Linked DNA regions of Homo sapiens: all the other regions are linked to region 2. Evidence: promoter capture Hi-C in 16 types of primary human blood cells and fetal thymus (Javierre and others, 2016). All regions are on one chromosome and are shown on one strand. Each heading gives the region's core, a stretch centred on a gene start or on the middle of the fragment in contact. The rest is flanking DNA. Distances are from core to core; before and after follow the strand shown. Region 1 overlaps CLDND1-AS1 (CLDND1 antisense RNA 1). Region 2 holds the start of DCBLD2 (discoidin, CUB and LCCL domain containing 2). Region 3 overlaps CPOX (coproporphyrinogen oxidase). Region 4 has its middle 11 kb from the start of CLDND1-AS1.

What was found. Contacts are between HindIII fragments. The CHiCAGO score rates a contact against its expected background, and 5 or more counts as called.
Region 1: a contact is called between a fragment that was not itself captured here and the fragment with the promoter of DCBLD2 in region 2, in 2 of 17 cell types (fetal thymus and monocytes). The highest score is 9.3, in fetal thymus.
Region 3: a fragment that was not itself captured here is called in contact with the fragment with the promoter of DCBLD2 in region 2 in 2 of 17 cell types (monocytes and fetal thymus); the score reaches 5.6 in monocytes.
Region 4: a fragment that was not itself captured here is called in contact with the fragment with the promoter of DCBLD2 in region 2 in 1 of 17 cell types (monocytes); the score reaches 5.1 in monocytes.

The regions. Positions count from the first base shown.
Region 1 is chr3:98,525,853-98,530,530 of GRCh38, reverse strand. It overlaps CLDND1-AS1 (CLDND1 antisense RNA 1), which reads right to left. Exons shown (of 2, transcript NR_198998.1): 2 at 4,644-4,678. Among named protein-coding and RNA genes, the nearest start is that of GPR15, 3.8 kb to the left of the region's middle. RefSeq lists an enhancer at 1,623-2,166. The HindIII fragment of the contact is 4,844 bases long and covers 698-4,678 here.
Region 2 is chr3:98,900,055-98,904,936 of GRCh38, reverse strand. DCBLD2 (discoidin, CUB and LCCL domain containing 2) reads left to right here and starts at 3,242. Exons shown (of 16, transcript NM_080927.4): 1 at 3,242-3,815. The coding sequence starts at 3,611. LOC105374002 (a long non-coding RNA gene) reads right to left here and starts at 2,923. Exons shown (of 2, transcript NR_189121.1): 1 at 2,420-2,923; 2 at 1-44. RefSeq lists silencers at 2,924-2,973, 3,114-3,803 and enhancers at 2,911-3,626, 3,627-4,343. The HindIII fragment of the contact is 5,361 bases long and covers 653-4,882 here.
Region 3 is chr3:98,574,834-98,579,762 of GRCh38, reverse strand. It overlaps CPOX (coproporphyrinogen oxidase), which reads left to right. Exons shown (of 7, transcript NM_000097.7): 7 at 1-317. Among named protein-coding and RNA genes, the nearest start is that of CPOX, 16 kb to the left of the region's middle. The HindIII fragment of the contact is 1,823 bases long and covers 1,113-2,935 here.
Region 4 is chr3:98,509,401-98,514,188 of GRCh38, reverse strand. No RefSeq gene overlaps it. Among named protein-coding and RNA genes, the nearest start is that of CLDND1-AS1, 11 kb to the left of the region's middle. The HindIII fragment of the contact is 4,140 bases long and covers 875-4,788 here.

The DNA.
Region 1 (4,678 bases), core at 1,870-4,369, 370 kb after region 2:
ATAGTCATTAAACATTTGAAGTCCTTTCTTAAGTTGTTTTTTCATTTGTTTGTTTGTTTAATTTTTGAGACAGGGTCTCACTAGGGTCTCACTTTGTCACCCAGGCTGGAGTGCAGTGTCTTGAACACAGCTCACTGCCAGGCCCATGCAATCCTCCCACCCCAGCCTCCTGACTAGCTAAGACTACAGGCATGCACCACCATGCCCGACTAATTTTTGTATTCTTTGTAGAGACGGGTTTTCGCCATGTTGCCCAGGCTGGTCAGGAACCCCTGAGCTCGAGCAATCTATCCGCCTTGGCTTCCCAGAATGCTGGGATTACAGGCATGGGCCACCAAGCCTGGCCCTACTGAATTGTTATTTCTTCAGTAATTAGTATATTAAAAAGAATCATCCTGCCGGTTGTACTTCCTCCTTCCCTCTTCCTCCTGATATGGTCTAGTGTCACCTGAGTCTTAGGCAAGTAAGCTGAGGTCAGGGAAGGATAAAGGCTCCTCTGACCTGGGACAGTCCCAGAAGTCACTCTGGAGTTGATTTGTGGGCCTGAGCCTGCCTTCTCCTGTGTCCCTGGCTGCTGTGCGCAATTCATTTAATTTCATGGAGGGCATATTCTTTACTAAATATAGACTACAGATCAGAGAAACTAATTAACCGCTTTGACATTTCTGGGACAGAAATCTTTCCCACTGGGTAAGCTTTAATTATTTAATAGAATAATTCATTTTGTCAAAAATTGAAGTAGGACAATATTTACTCAAAAAAGATTAATAGGGTAATATAGAATATTTAAACATATCATCTATATCTGTGTGCCTGTGTGTTAAAGTACTAATCATATATATTCTTTAAGTGTACTGAAATTTTAATATTAGAATTTTGTACCCTACAATCATAAGTTCTTTTGGCATTTGAGAAAATAAGGTTGATTCTGGGTCTACGGTTTTTCTTCTTTTTTTTAATCCTTTGATATGTCTCAAGAATTCAACATAAAGGTATTATAAAATGGAAAAAGAGTTCATGCTCATACTGTAGAGGAAAATATTTGGCTGCACATTCATTCTGTATCCCTTAAATTTTTTTTTTCAAATTTCAAAAGTTGCTGGACCGCTGATGTAAACTATCTCAAATCCAATTTCCTCAGCAAACTATTGAAGCAGTTGTAGATAAAATAGTTTGCTTTATCATTATGTGGCCACCTTGAAGTATGATATTTAATGGTAGAATGTTACAATGTGAGAATACCCACCTTGGATCAACAGCATCTTTGTACCCAAATCAGAAAACAAATTAAATGTTTTAAGCCAAAAACGTTCACATAGCATAGTGCCAGTCTTTTAGTACCTCAGAGTACAATGCTAGTACAAGACAGAATCCACAATAAAGCTGGCTAAAGTGGGGTTGTAAATAAGCTGGTGCAACGGTCAATTTTAGGACTTTGAGTTTTCTTTAAAATAAACATGAAGATACTAACAATAAAATAGAAACCTACACATAGATCAAAACTCAAAAGCAACACTGGGTTCCATAAACATATGAAAAGTCAATGTAAACAGAATGATGGCAAAAAAAAAAAGAATAATATATAAGTATTAGTAACTGAATTAGAGCATATATGCCACATCTTTGGAATTCTTTTTCTCAGAAAATAACACTCAACTTTCCTCCATGACTCCTGGCAGAAATAACTGCTTCTTCCTTTGTATTTCCTAAGAACTTTAAAAATACTGGTTACAAAGTACTTGTCTCTTTTCACACTGTTAGTTGTCTTTGTATCTGACCCCTGGAGCTGATAATGAGCAACCTGAAGACAGAGTCCATTCATTATCTCTGGACTGGCCTCTAGCATACAGAAGTTACCCAACTAAAGTTCTTTTAGGACTCTTAAAGCCATTGTTTTGAACCTGTGGATGCCAGATCGTTTTACCCAGATTAGAGTCATCAGGGACACCTGCTGAGCTGTAGATTGCCAGACCCTATTCTAGATGTCCTCAGTCAGAATCATTGGGGAAGAAGTCTAGGACTTTATATTTAACAAGCATTCGAGGTGATTCTTATACACACTAAAGTTTAGAATCACTGTTCTAATTTATATAAGTTAACCAACATTATATATTATGCTTTGTTATTATTTTGACTAATTTTTAAAAAAGGCTTAAAAGTTACCTCAGAATTTGAAATTTGTGGAAGTCTTTTAGTCTGAATATCACAAAATTTGAGGAATTAATTTAGATTTCTAGGCCCTGCTTATTCTATGTTCCAATTCCTGAGTTATGCTCAGAACTGGTTCAGGTGTTGAAGATGAAGACAGAGAAAGGTTTTCTCTACTGAAACATCTGCTTGAGTGAATCCATTATTATTTGCTGTGGCTTGCAGCCTCTGCTTCACAAGCAGGCTGAAGATTTAATAATAGAGCCACCCCTATTAGGCTTATTGAACTTATGATTATATTACTTCGGCCTCTTCCCTGTCAACCACCATATCAGGTGGAGACTCATCAGATTACATGCATATAGCACAGAAGAAAGAAATCCCTGGATACGAAGCCTTTGATTCACACATGCTCTGCTGATATGTCCCAGAATAAATGGCAAAGAGCATGAAGCAACTAATTATTTCTCATTAATCTCATCAGTCAAACGGTGTCATTATATATTCACTTGTTAGATACATTATCTTGTCCATTTCTTAAAGTGCAAAGTCAAATAGTTAAGTTTAAGAAAAACGATTATACTGTTTATACTCTAGGAGTTTATTTTTATTTTTAAATTCTCAGTTACTTGGAGAATTTAGTACTATATAATGTAATATCACATCATGCCAAACTAAGTGGCACGTATTCATTATTATGAGGGCCCCCCACTTAATTTACTGGCTTATTTCCATTGGTAACTAATATATAGATAGAAATGATGTTACTATTCTAGGAATATATACTTTAGATTTCTTCGAAATAGCAGATTTAATCTGAATTTAGGTTGTGCATAACAAAAATTATGTTTATTTATGTTGGTGTCCTTGGCATCCAGCAGAGTGTCTGGCAAGCAATAGATGGTCAATAAATGATTATAGATCTGGGATGAATCATGCTTGAATTTTGAGTTATTTCCGCAGAGTAGGGACTTTTCACAAACTTCTTAGACAGCTTCCATTTTCTATTCAGTCCTGGGATCTTTGTCACATCATAAACTAATATGAAGAGATGTTTCTAAGTTAATGCAGCACATTTTTTGTCAACTTATGCTTATGTTTTCACTTGGCACATCTTGTTGAATCAGAAGCAACTTGCAAACCAATAAATGTGAAAAATATCATTATCATGGCCTCATAATAAGTATGACGGATAGTGATGAGAAGAGGACTCTCTCAATGAAGACTCTTAAGTTTATTAATAATTAAATTAATTGATTATATTAGTTTCTTATCTGCAATAAGATTTTTTTTTGAAAAGTTATTTTTGGGAGGCCCACAATTCATACTCATAACTCTATACTAATAAGTGTCAATTAGAAGAAATCAGAAAAGTTTCCTTCCATAATTTTACCTTCATAATTACTGTTAATCTTTGAAATAGCAAGGGCTGTTTTTCGGTACCTTTTCTAATCAGAATGCATATAGTCTTCCTCCTTTTCCTTTGCAATCTACATTTGCCACTATCTCTGCTTCTAGTACATTGCCTAGGCTTGAGGTATAGGGTATATAAATTCTGCAATGAAACTCTAATGCTGTGGATCTATGAAAAACCGTATTTTGTAGTTGCATTATTCTTCTTCCAGTAGAATTATAAACTGTAAAATTTTAGAGCTTCAAGTGGTGTTAATGATCATTAGTACAACTGTTTTACTAAAGAGGACCCTAGGGTCCAGAAAGGGGTCATTAACCAAAGATCCATTGATAATTTTTAAATAAAGGATAATTTAAACTTAAACTTCTCATTTACATATGGGTCATTCACTGTCTTTCAGAAGCATGGGCATCTAAAAATTATAGTTTTTTACTATATGTGGCACTTTACAGGAATTACTAAAAAAAAAAAGGAGACATTTTAGGTGCACTTTTCTATTTGCCTTGATCTTGATTCTGTTATTGTTCTACAGTGAATGGGTGCAAGGAAATTCAAAGATAGGTACATTTTTAAAAATGGTTTTTGGTTGGAACCCAGAATTGTACATATTCCCATTTTTTTCCTTTCTGAACTCCAAAGTTCACAAGGGAAACAACCAGAAAAAAAATTACATGAAGAAACATAATGTAAATATATCTTATAATGTAGATATAACTTTTAGTTCCTAAAAATGTGCAATTAAAAATAAAATATTAAATGTATTGGGGAATTTAGTATTGATGGAAATTCTAGTGTGAAGGGTTGTTTCATAAGTACATAATAAAAACAAGTTACAACATCTGAGTATCTAGATTTTCAGTTATCGGTTTTATTTTAAATGTGCTATAACTATAATGCCTTCCGGTTGAAACTAGAACCATCTTTAACAAGTTAAGCTAGATGTCTCATTTAACTTCGCTTTTAAACCTAAATTCCATAATCTCTACATGGTTGCACAAAATCATCTTTCATATTTGTGAAAATATAAGGCTAGCTACCGTTTCTCAAACAGCAGAGTAAGAAGCAGAAGTAGAAATTTAGCTCCATTAATTAATTAAGGATTTATTTTACCTACTC
Region 2 (4,882 bases), core at 1,993-4,492:
AAATTTTGATCATTTCAGAGCAGCCTTCTGTCATTGTTTGGCAACTAAGTAGAGAGACAATAATCAGAAGAGAGAATATGGGTGCAACAGCATCAATCCTCTCCCACATCTGTGCTATATTTGTAATTTTCTATATACATAAAGCAATAGGGGGCACCACAAATGTTCTCTAGCCAGACTTCCAGACCCTGTCTTCCAAAGCGAAACTCCGGAAGCTGAGGCATAAAATAACACAGAAATAGTCAAATGGCATCAGTCACTAAGACCTTCTGATTTTGCTGCTTTAAATATAACTCCAACTTGCTCCCACCTCCCTCTCTTTTTCCCTGCCAGTGACCTAATTCAGAACCTCTTCACCTCTCTAGTCTCTACTTTTAACAACTTTAAAACACTAGACAGTAAGTAAAACAGTGATGAGAAATGTAAGTGCTCCTTCCTCTTGCTTTACACGTATGTAGTCGGGATCTTTTCCTGCTATATTAAAGGGGTAGGGGTTGCTAGAGACCAAATTTTGCCTCTTCCAGAAATGCTCCATAACTGTGCTAGTTCTTAGGTGAATTCTCTGCCTCTGCCACAGTTCTATGTAGTCAATAGAATGCCAGGCTAAGATTCACACTACCTTGCTCTGCCACCACATCTGTGACCTCAAGCTTCTCTTTCAATGGTCCTATGAAAGGAGTGATTCCACATGAAATAGGTTGTCTCAGGCACTACTACTAGAAATCTTATTTCATGACTGACTGCTTGCCACATTAGCACATCATGTCTGATAGGTTCAATTCTGAATTTATGATTTTTAACTTCTACTTCTTTATCCAACCAAACCAATTCTCCTTCTTGTACTCCTTACTGTGGGAAAGACATCACCTTCTACCAGAAACCTGGAGACTTCCTCAACTCCTTACACTCCACATAATCAGTCACCAAGTTTAAAAATATTCCCCTAGTTGGTCCCGCCTTCCCAAGCCCACTTTTAATGCACTAAAAACTCACCATCACTCCCTTTAACTGCAGACTGGCTCTCCCTGGCTTCCAGTCTTGCTCTTACACCAATGTATTCCTCACCCTACTGGCTGATTGGGGTTTTTACAATAAAAACCTGATAATGACCGGGCGCGATGGCTCACGCCGTTATCCCAGCACTTTGGGAGGCTGAGGCGGGTGGATCACCTGAGGTCGGGAGTTCGAGACCAGCCTGACCAACAATGGAGAAACCCCGGCTCTACTAAAAATACAAAATTAGCCGGGTGCGGTGGCACATGCCTGTAATCCCAGCTACTAGGGAGACTGAGGCAGGAGAATCGCTTGAACCCGGGAGGCAGAGGTTGCAGTGAGCCGAGATCATGCCATTGCACTCCAGCCTGGGCAACAAGAGCAAAACTCCATCTCAAAAAAAACAAAAACAAAAACAAAAACAAAAAAAAAACTGACAATGTCATTCTTTCTTAGAACCCTTTAGTTATTTTCCAGTGATACAAAATAAAATCTTGACTCTTAGCTTGCCTTACATCTTGCCCCTCCTAACTTTTCCAGACTAGTCTCCAGTTCCTCCCATTACGTCAGCAGTAGTCAATCCAGCTCCATCAACACCATTCCCTATTGAGCCTGTGACCCAGCCTATTTTGCCTCTGGCCTGAGATCACCTTTTTCACTTTAGTTTCTTATTCAAGACACTGGCATTTCAAACTGACGGGTTTTTTTGAACTCCGTTCACTGTGGTATTGTGGCACCAGTCCACACCTCTAACAGGGCACTAATAACAATAGGTTTGTTTACATGTCACCTCCTCCTCCAGAATGTAAGTTCTTCTCAGTAAACTTTTTATGCCCAATGCCCACAATGGCTTAGAGCATAATAGGGTTTCTTAGGCATTTAATAAATGTTAATTGAATAAATTTGGTTAAAGAGATTATTGTATAAGAAATATGCAGGGGAGTTGAAACATACGACCTCCAAAGTCCTTTCCAACTTAGACTTTCATTGAAGGATATCAGTCCCTTCCATGTTTTTGAATATCACATCTATGTATGACTATGTATACATATGTATATGTATACATGTATGGCTATGTATGACTCCCAGAGCCATAATTTCAAAGCTCTCAATCTGAGCTTTCGACTAAAATATCCATCTGCCTGTTACATAGCTTCACTTATTATCTAAGTTGGCATCTCAAATTCAATACGTCCAAAATTAACTTACTTTCCCACACAACTTGTTCCACCTTAGCAGTTTTTTGTATTTGCTAATGACACCATTGTCCTTTCAGGGACTGCTGTTAAAAACATCCTACATGGCCACTCTCTTCTAAAATAAATCACTGCGTAGACCTCTGCATTCCTCTTTCCTAAAATTCTTTTTGTCGTTCCATAGGCTTACAGTCTCCATCAAACTGCTTGTGACTCTAATTAGCACTTACTTCATTCTGACTTGCATGCTATATTTCCATCTCTGTTCCACATTTCAAGATTTCTGTAGATAGACAGCAGGTGCTCAACAACTCCTTGTAGAATGGCTGCATGAAGGTTGGGATGTTAGGTTTAAATTGCCTTTGCGGCACGGATCTTGTTTTACACTTTTTTGTCCCCCACCCCCCGCCATAAAAAGAGCAGAGAAAACAGGGAACACATATATTAAAAACTGAACACTGCATCTATTATTCTAACTCGGAGCTGTTGCAACAACTGGCGGCAGTTTTAACAAAACAAGCCACGCTCTGCCATTAAAAAAAAAAAAAAAGTCCCTTAGACTCAGCTCCCAGCTAAAACAACCCAGGATCCAGGTTTCCCACCCCCTTCCAGTGGTCTGATGTGCGTCGGAGGAGCGAGGAGAAAGGAGCAAGGAGCAAGCTGGGCCTGAGGAGCAGGGAGCGCGGGATGGGGGACGTCCCGGAAGTCACTGACGAGCTGGCTGCCGCCTCTGCGGGATCAGTTTGGGCTGAGGGCCCAACAATAACAGGCGCCCGGGCCGGGCGGGGGCCGCGGGGATCCGAAGCTGGAGGGCGGGACCTGGATTGGAGGAGGCGGGTGGGACGCCTCCAAAGGCCGAAGGGGATTGGAAGAGGGAGGTAAGGGGCGGTGGAGCTCGAGGAATGGGCCGGAGAACTAGCGGGTCGAGCGAGGAGCGAGCATGCTGATTGGGTTTCGCGGAAGGAGACGGACCAGAGCTGGCCGAGGATTGGCCGCGGTGCCTAGGGGGCGTGGCCGGCGCGCGCGAGAGGGAGCGCGAGGGAGCTGGCTGCGGGCCTGCCTGCCAGCTAGCCGGAGCCGCGGGTGAGCGCGGCGAGCGGCGACCCTGGTGAGGAGCGCGGCGCGGGAGGCACGTTCCTTAGCTCCGCCGCGGCCGTCCTCCGCGGCTCGAGGACTCCGCTTCCTTCCCTCCCCTCCCCTGCGCTCCGGCCTGGGGTCTCGGCGCGGGGAGCGGAGGGAAGGGACGAAGGAGGAGTAGGTGAAAGCGGGGTGAGGGGCGGAAGGGTCCCGGCGCGGGGTGAGGCGAGGGCTGCCTCTTGTTCTCCCGCCGCTGCCGCCGTCTCCTGGTCGGGTGCCGCGGCCAGAGGCGCGCGGGGCTGCCGAGGCACCCGCACTATGCAGGCAGACTGCCGGCCGCCGCGATGGCGAGCCGGGCGGTGGTGAGAGCCAGGCGCTGCCCGCAGTGTCCCCAAGTCCGGGCCGCGGCCGCCGCCCCCGCCTGGGCCGCGCTCCCCCTCTCCCGCTCCCTCCCTCCCTGCTCCAACTCCTCCTCCTTCTCCATGCCTCTGTTCCTCCTGCTCTTACTTGTCCTGCTCCTGCTGCTCGAGGACGCTGGAGCCCAGCAAGGTGAGTGGTCCCAGGGGAGTGAGCGGCGGGGGAACCTCCGTCGGGGCTGCGGGTCTCTTGGCCCCTGAACAAATCTGCAGACGCTGCAGGGAGGCGCGGTGCGCTTTCGTGCGTGGCCGGACCTGGCTGGGTACTCACGGGGTTGAGTTGCAAAGGCAAGGTCTTGCCCGTCTGTCCCCCAAGTTGGCGCGGCTTTACTTTTTGGCAAGGCCATTTATTTTTCTGAAAGGGGGACGTGAGACCCTGCTATGAAAGCCTCGTTGATATTAGGTCCTTCTGGGGAAAATTTTGGGGAGGAAAAAGAACCTTTGGAGGTAATGACCCCTAAAGTTAAGCTGCACGGATGGATGGACACTGTAGGAAGGCAGGTTAATTAAATAGCATCTTAAGCCTATTAAAGGTAAGTGGTGGTAATTATGATCCTTTGTGAAAGAGCCCGGGTTCTGAAGCGAATGGAATAGTTTCTGCTTATCTCTGAGTCTTGGATTCAGAACATGTTCTTTACAATCCATCATTGAGGCTGGTGGTCTAGACTGCCTTGGTCAAACACTGGGTCTGACCCAACGCTATGCTAATTTGCCCAAGTGAAGCTCTCCACATTAAAAAGGTAAGCCTTTCCAGAAAGTGACAAAACTTTTTTTTTTTTCCACCTACAATCCTTGAAAAACCTGTTCCAGAAACAGGCAAAACTGTTTATTAAATACTTATCATAATGGAAGGAGAATGCAGGGTGATTTCTTTTCCCCTTTAGTACTGTTTTCCCGTAGTGTACCACACTTTTTGAATCAGTTTGGCATCAGTTTTTGAAAAGATATTTCCATTGCATTTTCCATTTTATTGCAGTGGGAAGGATAAGGATTGGATTGTTACTTATTGCTAGGAAGAGAGTTTTTTAAAAAGAAAATTGTTCTCTGCCTTTAAGCCCAGCTTTATGTTGCTCTCATGGTTTTCAGTGAAGTATGGAATCATGGCCTGTCATTAAGAAGATGCCGAACCTTGACAGGCATGTGGAAATATAATCTCTGTAACTATAAGGAAAAAATGTATTTGGCAAACTGACCCCTTAC
Region 3 (4,929 bases), core at 775-3,274, 320 kb after region 2:
ACACACGTTTCTTAGGAAAATGGACACATTGAAAATGTCCTCTTTTTTATATTAGAGATTCTGCAGCTCTTTGCTCTTAAGAGCAAATCACAACAGGATTCTTAATGTATGATTTCTTTGTTCATATATTATGAATGTATTATTTTATTTGCTTCGTAATAAAGTTTATAAGGAAGAGCATCTCATACATATCATTATCGTGGAACACGTTGAATGTTTGTGATTCTGTGTGGCCTTTTTGGGGCTGGAAAATGTATGAATTCTTCAACTGTCTTACAAGAGATCTGCTAATAAATTTTATTATTAAATAAGACTAAGAAATATTTATATTTTTTGTTGCCAGGATAATATAGGAAAACGCATATATTTCTTAGTACAGTTGATCCTTGAACAACATTAGGGCTAGGGGCCCCAACTCCTCCTTACTGCATGCAGTTTCAAATCCTTGTATAACTTTTGACTCTCCCAAAACTTAATCACTAATAGCCTCCTGTTGACTGGTAGCCTGACCAATAACATAGTCAATTCGCACATGTTTTATGTTATATGTATTATATACTCTTCTTACAAGCTAAAGAAATGAAAATGTTATTAAGGAAATCGTAAGAAAGAAGATATATTTGCTATTCATTAGGTGGAAGTGAATCATCGTAAAGGTCTTCATCCTCATTGTTTTCATGTTGGGTAGGCTTAGTGGGAGTAGTAAGAGGAAGAGTAGGTCTTGCTCTCTCAAGGGTGGCAGAGGTGGAAGAAAATCTGCGAAGAAGCAAAACTCTTCAAACCTGTGTTGTTCAAGGCTCAGCTATGCTAATGCCATAGTTCCTCATTCCTAGGTATTTTACTCAAGAAAAATACAAGTTTTGTACTCAATTTTCATAGCAGCTTTATTCAATAGTTGAAAATTAGAAACAACCCAAATGGCTAACAGCAGGTGAGCAGATAAACAACTTGTGATATATGCGTATATTAAAATACTAAGCAATGAAAAGGAATAACTATTGCTAATGACAGTAACATGGGTGAACATCAGAAACATTATGCCAAGTGAAAGCCACACATAAAAGTACTTACTATATGACTACATTATAGGAAAACCTAGAAAAAGCAAAGCTTTAATGACAGAAAGCAGATCAATGGATGGCAGGGGTTAGGGGATGCAGATTTGTGAAAGGGGACAAAAGAGTATTTTGAGGTGATTTAAATGTTTTACATCTTGATTGTGATGGTTACTAGACTGTATATACATTTATCAAAATTCACTGAACTTAAAATGGAATTTTATTGTATATGTGAATAATACTTCAATAAATCTAATACTAGGAAAAATATAGGCATATAGGAACAAATGTTCAGATCAACCTCAGTTTAGCTTTTAAAAAATAGAAAATCACTACATAGTGATGATATAATGCTAAAATGCTAGCCTATTTAGTTGTGTTTAAAGCTGTGGCGGGTAAATGAAGATAAAATTTTTCTGTGCATTTGTTTTCAGTTCTTCAATAACCACGTATTTCTACTATGGATTAGACTATGTCTGAAAAGAATTGCATAACTACTGGAAAACAGATTATCCTACTGTTATTCAAAGTGAATTTCTCTTTCAATTTCTTACTGGTGTTAATTCAGTCTACCTGAAGACCACAGTGCACCTCCAGATGGCCTGAACACCTAACTGTCTTATGCATGCAGGTTCATGGTAATAAAGGGTGTCTGGAGGGGAGAAATGTCAATTCTCTGGAGCAAATTTTTAACCACTATTTTCTGTTCATCACTGTACTCTGCTGACCCTCCTAGTCAGCAGAGTATTTGAGATAAGTGCTTCTGCACGCTAAGGAGTACAAGATTTGAAAAGCCAAATGTTTCTTTATGACTTATCCTTCCATGTGTCTTTTGCTGTTACAATATTTAGAGACAGGAATCTTCTGCAGGTTTTTGACTTGCATGTCTGTACATAGGTGAGGATGACTCAAAGGCTCAGCTCATCTTGGACTGCAGGCTGCATTGCCTATGGGTGGCTCAGAGCACGAATTCCATGGAAAAAGGCAAAGGCAGTATGGTGGTTTTCTGTTCTAACCACTGAGGTTATGTAGTGTCACTTTCTTCACATTCCACTGGACTCCTGACAAGTCTGTCATTAAGGACAGTTCCAGATTCGAGTGGTAGGGAATTAGATCCCAGTCATCTTCAAAACCTCCACACAGCCTTCCACACTCAAAACCACGAAATAGATTGGACTCAACCCTCCACATTGCCCTAATTAGTTCCTGTTGAGTCCCCCTTTGAAATGGCTCCTGGTTTCCTTCCTCTGCCCTTTGCCACCACCCTACTTTAGTCTCACATACTTTCTCATCTGAACTTTTGCAATGCTCTCCCTGCCTCTGGGCACTCTGACCTTTCCCTCTCTTCAGAATTATTTTCCTAGGTCCCATTATCACCACCCTGCTGAAATAGTCAAAGAATCTCCTCTCCAGACAGAATTCTAAAGTCAGTCTGACATTCAAGCAATCCACCATTTAACTCCTACCTCGTGTTTCAGGCTTATCTTCTACATTTCTCTGTGCACTTCAGTCTCAGACCATATACTCACCACTCACCACTTTTCCTGAACTTCCCCCAAATTATATCCCCTCTGGCCTTTTCTCAGGCTGCTGCTATCTCTGCTTGGAATGTCTTATGTGCCCGCTCATCCTTCCATGCCCATTTTAAATCTTCTTCAAGAAACCTTCCTTGGAGTCAATCTCTTCTACCCTTTCAACACATTTTACTTTTAGTATTGCTGTCAACATATTCCATTTACAGTCATTCAATCCACATCCCACTTATTACAAAATATTGAAGGTGGATCTTTCCTTATTTATAGTACCTGCTACCTAATGAATGATGTGTTAACCTTTGTTTTCCAACACTGTTTTGCAATATATCGTAGTATCAAGCTTAGTGTTGTTTAGTTGTCTGTATAACTGTCTTATTCCTAGTCTGTGAAAACAGAAGTTCCCAGTATCTCTAAAAGCCCATTTAGAAATTGTTTTCAAGGATGTATTGTATTATCCCTGCCACAAGTATGAATTATGTATTTGAAATCTCACATTTTAAAATTTCATCTTTCTTCCCAAAGAAACACATAACAATCCAATTTCATAATAAACCTAAATTAGCACATTTAAGTTAGTGACGCTTAGACATTTGTAAATGGCTTGACTAAATTCCCTTGTATTGTTACCTGAAATCAAGTCATAAGTTGTACAACATAAAACCTCACTGATATGGTTAGGGTTTGTGTCCCCACCCAAATCTCACCTGGAATTGTAATCCCCCAAATCCCCAGGTGTCAAGGGAGAGACCAGGTGGAGGTAATTGAGTCATGAGGGTAAACCATCCCCGTGCTGTTCTCGTGGTAGTGAGTGAGTTCTCACAGGATCTGATAATTTTATAAGGTGCTCTTCCCTTCTTTGCTCAGCACTTCTCCTTCCTGCTGCCTTGTGAAGAAGGTGCCTTGCTTCCCTTTTGCCTTCTGCCATGATTGTAAGTTTCCTGAGGCCTCCCAGCCATGCTGAACTATGAGTCAATTAAACCTCTTTCCTTTATAAATTATTCAGTCTCGGGCAGTTCTTTATAGCAGTATGAAAACAGAATAATGCACTCACAGACCTGTTTCTACAAGTTGCTTTTTTTTTTTTTTTTTTTTTTTTTGAGGCAGAGTTTCACTCTTGTTGCCCAGGCTGGAGTGCAATGGTGCGATCCTGGCTCACCACAACCTCTGCCTCCTGGGTTCAAGCCATTCTCTTGCCTCAGCCTCCCGAGTAGCTGGGATTACAGGCATGTGCCAGCACGCCCGGCTAATTTTTTTGTATTTATTTAGTAGAGACAAGGTTTCACCATGTTGGCCAGGCTGGTCTTGAAATCCTGACCTCAGGTGGTCCACCTGCCTCGGCCTCCCAAAGTGCTGGGATTACAGGCATGAGCCAGCACACCCGGCTAATTTTTTGTATTTTTTTAGTAGAGACAAGGTTTCACCATGTTGGCCAGGCTGGTCTTGAAATCCTGACCTCAGGTGATCCACCCACCTCAGCCTCCCAAAGTGCTGGGATTACAGGCATGAGCCAGCACACCCGGCTAATTTTTTGTATTTTTTTAGTAGAGACAAGGTTTCACTATGTTGGCCAGGCTGGTCTTGAAATCCTGCCTCAGGTAATCCACCTGCCTCGGCCTCCCAAAGTGCTGGGATTACAGGCATGAGCCACGGTGCCCGGCCTACAAGTGGTTTTATACTGGATATTCACTAACATATACCAGCAGAGCAAGGTAGTTGAACTGCATTTCCTCTTCCGATCAGTGTAGCCAGCTCTATTCTAGATCTTAAGCTCATTCAAACAGTATTTTCAATAATTCTTTTACTGTTAATCCCTTCATATTTCAAAATGCGTTTGAACATAAAACTTGTCATAATCCAAGCCATCATGGTTTCAATAGGTTGATGCAAATACAGCCACTTAGGAAAGTAAATTGACTTTGCAGTCATTTAGAGTTGCAACACTGACTCTGTCATGGATGTGTTTTCTTATGAGATGGTTGAGAGGTATCAAAGTTCACAAAGCTGTACTGGCTGAATGCCTCTTATGTAATAGCAAGTGAATAATGCTTTCATAAATAAAAGTCTTTATAGCAATTTATCTATGCTCAGATCGGTTCAAGATTGCTTCCATTTTCTGACTTGATGAGGGAGACAGGCTTTTAGAATCTGTTCCACACCTGCTGCTTGACATTCTTCTAACCATTAGTATAATATACAAATCCACAATTTCTTGTAGTTCAAACTGTAGTTTATTAAAAATAACTAGTTCAGATGTCCTCAAAGACCATTTAAATTAATACTACCTGAATACAGGCTGGGCACGGTGGTTCATGCCTCTAATCCCAGCACTTTGGGAG
Region 4 (4,788 bases), core at 1,695-4,194, 390 kb after region 2:
TAGCAAAAGACTCATTTCAAAATTTATTAAGTATAGCCATAAAACACAATTTGGCACAACAACAACAACAACAAAAAAGGAATTCTAGAATTTATTCAGATAACAGTGTGCCTTCTGTCTGCATCATATTACACTAGGATTTCAAATTTATAATCTAATGGGAATGTGTTAAAATTTTACCTGCTGTAGTTGTGTGTGTGCACATGCACACGTGCGTTAAGGGAGAGGATAGGGTTGACAATCACTCCTAGGTGAACTCATTTAGTCATATGATTTGAGAAGAATGAGATGACCACAAACCATATCAATTTAGTTTGTTTTTCCATTCCAGAAACATCACCAAATTGCAGACTAGCACAGTTAAAACCTATAGACCCTGTCATGTTCAATTGACTATAACATATATAGATCGGGCCATTTTAATACTTAGCCTTCATATAAACTTTCACCAAAAATGAAAACCTGTTAACCTAATTTTGCTGATTGAAAAACTTTCTTTTTTGTGAAATGGAGTCTCACTCCGTCACCCAGGTTGGAGTGCAGTGGCCCAATCTTGGCTCACTGCAACCTCCGCCTCCTGGGTTCAAGGGATTCTCCTGCCTCAGCCTACGGAGTAGCTGGGATTACAGGTGTGTGCCACCATGCCCAGCAACTTTTGTATTTTTAGTAGAGATGGGGTTTCACCATGTTGGCTAGGCTGGTCTCAAACTCCTGACCTCAAGTGACTCACCCACCTTGGCCTCCCAAAGTGCTGGGATGACAGGCGTGAGCCACTGCACACGGCCTGATTGCAAAACTTTCTGAAATTCTCTAGCAGCTAAAAGAGCAGTTAATGGGTGCAGCTCTGAAGATGCAAATTGTTATTTCACAAGCTTGATGCAGCTGTGTCCTGGCACAGATGGGTGGAGGCTTTTGTCCTCCTTTCAGCACTCTTCTCAAAGGGAACAGTGATTCATACCTTGAAAAGTGAGGAATAAACAAGGAAACGGATCTAAATTATTTTTCTACTGCTCATCAGGTGTTCTTATACTCCATCGTAATAAGATACATTTTTCCCTGGGGCCAAATTACATGCCATCATCCTGCAAATTCATGATGTGAAAATGCTCAATTGTAAAAAGAGTAACAATTATTTGCCCTATAGAAGAAGTTACCATAGAGTGATTACATTCTCTTCAGTGCCAGAATTTCTATTACTAGCATTACGTGTATACAAATATACATTATTTGACATATAAACATTTACATACTTTCAGCAAACTTCTATAAAAGCAAGATCCAATTTATATTACTTTGTATATTTGCAAAGGTTTAGAAATGTGAAATGAGAATTTTCTTTCTGCCGTACACCTTTTAAAATATCTGAGTTACTAAGTAATGTGTCATCTTTACTGGTCCAGTGTTAGTGTCTCAGTATGTGAGCTTTACCTCACCTGCCCTGCAGCCTTTCAGCCCCTCCCAGTCTTCCGCATTTTGTTCGTTTCTTTCCCCCCTTAGCTTGTATTGTCATTGTATGTTCACAAACATCTTTGGTTCTCTTGCTCCCATAATTTCCTATGACACCTCCCTTCGCAATCCTTAGCCCTATCTTCATAGACTGTGCTGTCCAGTTTTCTTAATCTTAAGATATCAAGGATGGCTGTTCAGAACTACTAAGTTGATTCTATAAAAAAGTATGCTGTTTGACTTCAACTGCTTTATAATTCTAAGCATCTCTAATTATTGATCTTTTAACACCCTGCCACACATTTTCCAAGTCTCTACAAATGTTAGTTGTTGGAAACCTTTATTCTTCCTGCTTAACTTCCATGGAAGGAGTTTATGCTCTCTTTTAGAAGGGAATACTGGAGTCAACTCTTGTAGTATCTCCCAGCCTTATTTGCTTCTCTATATAAAAGAAGAATGTATTATCTGGTTGGAGAGATTGCTGGAATCAGGGCATCCACAAGGAGCAGCATGGTATATGGTGGTTAAGTATTTAGCTTGGGAGACAGAATGCGAGCTTTGTAATCCCAGGTCTATCTTTTGTCTCTTAGCCTTTTTCCAAACACCGCTTTTCCCATCTGTGAAATGCTTTGATTATCATATGTCTCTTAGAGTTGTGATGAGGATTATGTAAATTGCTTAGCATAAAGTAGTCGCTCAAAAACTGCTAGTTATGACTGGCTGCATTGTGAGGGGTTGCCAAGCCTATAAAGTGGTGGCTCTTAGCCTAGGCTGCACATTGGAATTTCCTGGAGAACTTAAATGTTTTCATTCCAGAGAATCTGATTTAGTTGGCCTGGGCTATGGTCGGGTCATTGAAATTTTTAAAACCTTTCCAAGTGATTCCAATGGGCAGTTATATTTGAAAGCTATGTTTAAACGCAAGAAATAGGATTCTCTCTCTCCTAGGCAGATTATGAAAGAGTGGGCTGTGGAGTAAACAGACCTGGCTTGGTGTCTGCCTTCTAAAAGCCATTTCTCTACTGTGCTTTCCACACTCTTCTGTTGACTGGCTCTTTGTGACAGGTCCCAATCCATCCCACCTCTGATAGTTGGAGATGCGTATGAAGAGTCTGCTCTGCAGATCCAGTGCACCCCTGGTTCTCAGGTTCAGATTTGGCAGGATGTAATAGGAAGCCTTGTTTGTTTTGGCTTCAATTCCAAATTATTTTCTCTAATCCGGTACTTTCAGGGACCCTGTAATTTGAGGTCATTAGGCCTCTATAAAGAAAGTGAATATTCTTATCCCTGTCTGCTTATCAGTTCATTGTGTTCATACTCTTGGTTAGAACTAGGAAGGAAGGAGGCATGCATGAGTGATTGATGTTAACTTCTACCCAAGCTAGAAATTCTGAGGATGAACATATAATAGCATTATCTATAAAATGGGATATTATCTGCCTCAATAGGTTTTTGTGATGGTTAAATAAGAAGGTATACGTGCAAGTTTTTAGAACACCTTTGAAAACATAAGAGCTCAAAAAGTGTTTGGTACTATTATTTGGACATTAATGCAGTGCACGGGAAGGAGGCAGCCTTTGCTTGCCCTGTGTGGTCCAGCTCTAGGGCATGCGGGACTCTGAGCTGTTGGGGTTTACCACAAGGCTACACTCCAATGGGGATTAGAACTGGGGCTGGTGTTACATTATTGGGGAAGTCTTCTGTTTCCAGTAAAGGTTTGTTTCAAAACAGAAAGGGCTTCATTACATGGGCTTTTTAGCCATACAAGCCTCTCAAGGTGGAAGAATTTTTGCTTTTAAAACTCACATTTTAATCCTTTTTTTCAAGTAGGACAGCAGTGGGGTGGAACTTTTGGCCTTTCAATGATTGTGCTATTGGTAAATCGAGATAAATGCATCAAAAACCTTTCTATTAGTCCATTTGTGATTCTATAACAGAATACCTGAGACTGAGTAATTTATAAATAATAGAAATTTATTTTTAATGGTTCTGGAGGCTGAAAAGTCCAAGATGCCAGCAGATTTGGCAATTCTGATTCCAAGACAACACTTTGCATGCTTCATGCTTCAGAGGAGAGGAAAACTGTTCCTCACATGAGAGAAGAGTAGAAGGGCAAAGAGGGTGAGAGTGGGCCAAACTGTACCAATTCCACCCATGAGGGTGGAGCCCTCATGGCCTAATCACCTCTCAAAGGTCCCACCTCCTAATAGTGTTACAATGGCAATTGAATTTTGACATGTGTTTTGGAAGGGGCAAACTTTCAAAACATAGCACTGTCTTTATGTTGTTTAAAATTGGACTCAGGTCCATTGAGGGAAGTGGAAGAACTTGGATTCCTGCAGCTTGTTTGCAGGCTCCTGAAATCAGCCTCTACAACATGCAATCCAATTAGATTTGGATGGTTCATTTTAAGTTCTGAGGGTGGAAGTAGATTTCAGGGATCCACACCATGGTTCCACTGCTGAGTAATGGTGGATATTATTCATGAGCACTTAACAAGATGCCAAGTGGCACTTGTTACCATGGACTCAAAGGAGGATTCAAAGATATGAAAGATAAGACATTATCTAAAAAATTCTAGAGAGAGTTCCAACACTTGATGCTAAAACACCCTTGTAATGGTTAATATTAAGTGTCAACTTGATTGAATTGAAGGATGCAAAGTATTGTTCTTGGGTGTGTCTTTGAGGGTATTGCCAAAGGATATTAACATTGGAGCCAGTGGACTGGGAGAGGCACATCCACCCTCAGTCTGGGTGGGCACAATTGAATCAACTACCAGGACAGCCAGAATAAAAAGCAAGCAGAAGAATGTGGAAAGACTAGACTGACTGAGTCTTCTGGCTTCCCTCTTTCTCCTGTGTTGGGTGCTTCCTGCCCTTGAACATTGGACTCCAAGTTCTCCAGCTATGGGGCTCTTGGACCTTTGACCACCGACTGAAATCTGCACTGTTGGCTTCCCTACTTTTAAGGTTTTGGGACTTGGACTGCCTTCCTTGCTCCTCAGCTTGCAGACGGCCTATTGTGGGACCTCACCCTGTGATCATGTGGGTCAATACTTAAACTCTCCTTTATTTAAACATCTATCCTATTAGTTCTGTCCCTCTAGAATACCCTAATGCAGCCCTCAAGGACTAATTTAGAGCAGCAGTACCCAATTTGTCATCTTAACCATTTACCCCAGGCCTTGTACCCTCCACCTAAAACTCCCAAGCATTTGAAATAAGATACCTGGGGGAAGGAAAGGGAGGGAAAGGCCTTGAGCCTTTGAGTGGAGAGTGCTGTGGCCTCTCCCTCTTACTCCCTCCTATGCATTAGGCATTACTCTAGGTGAACAAGTAG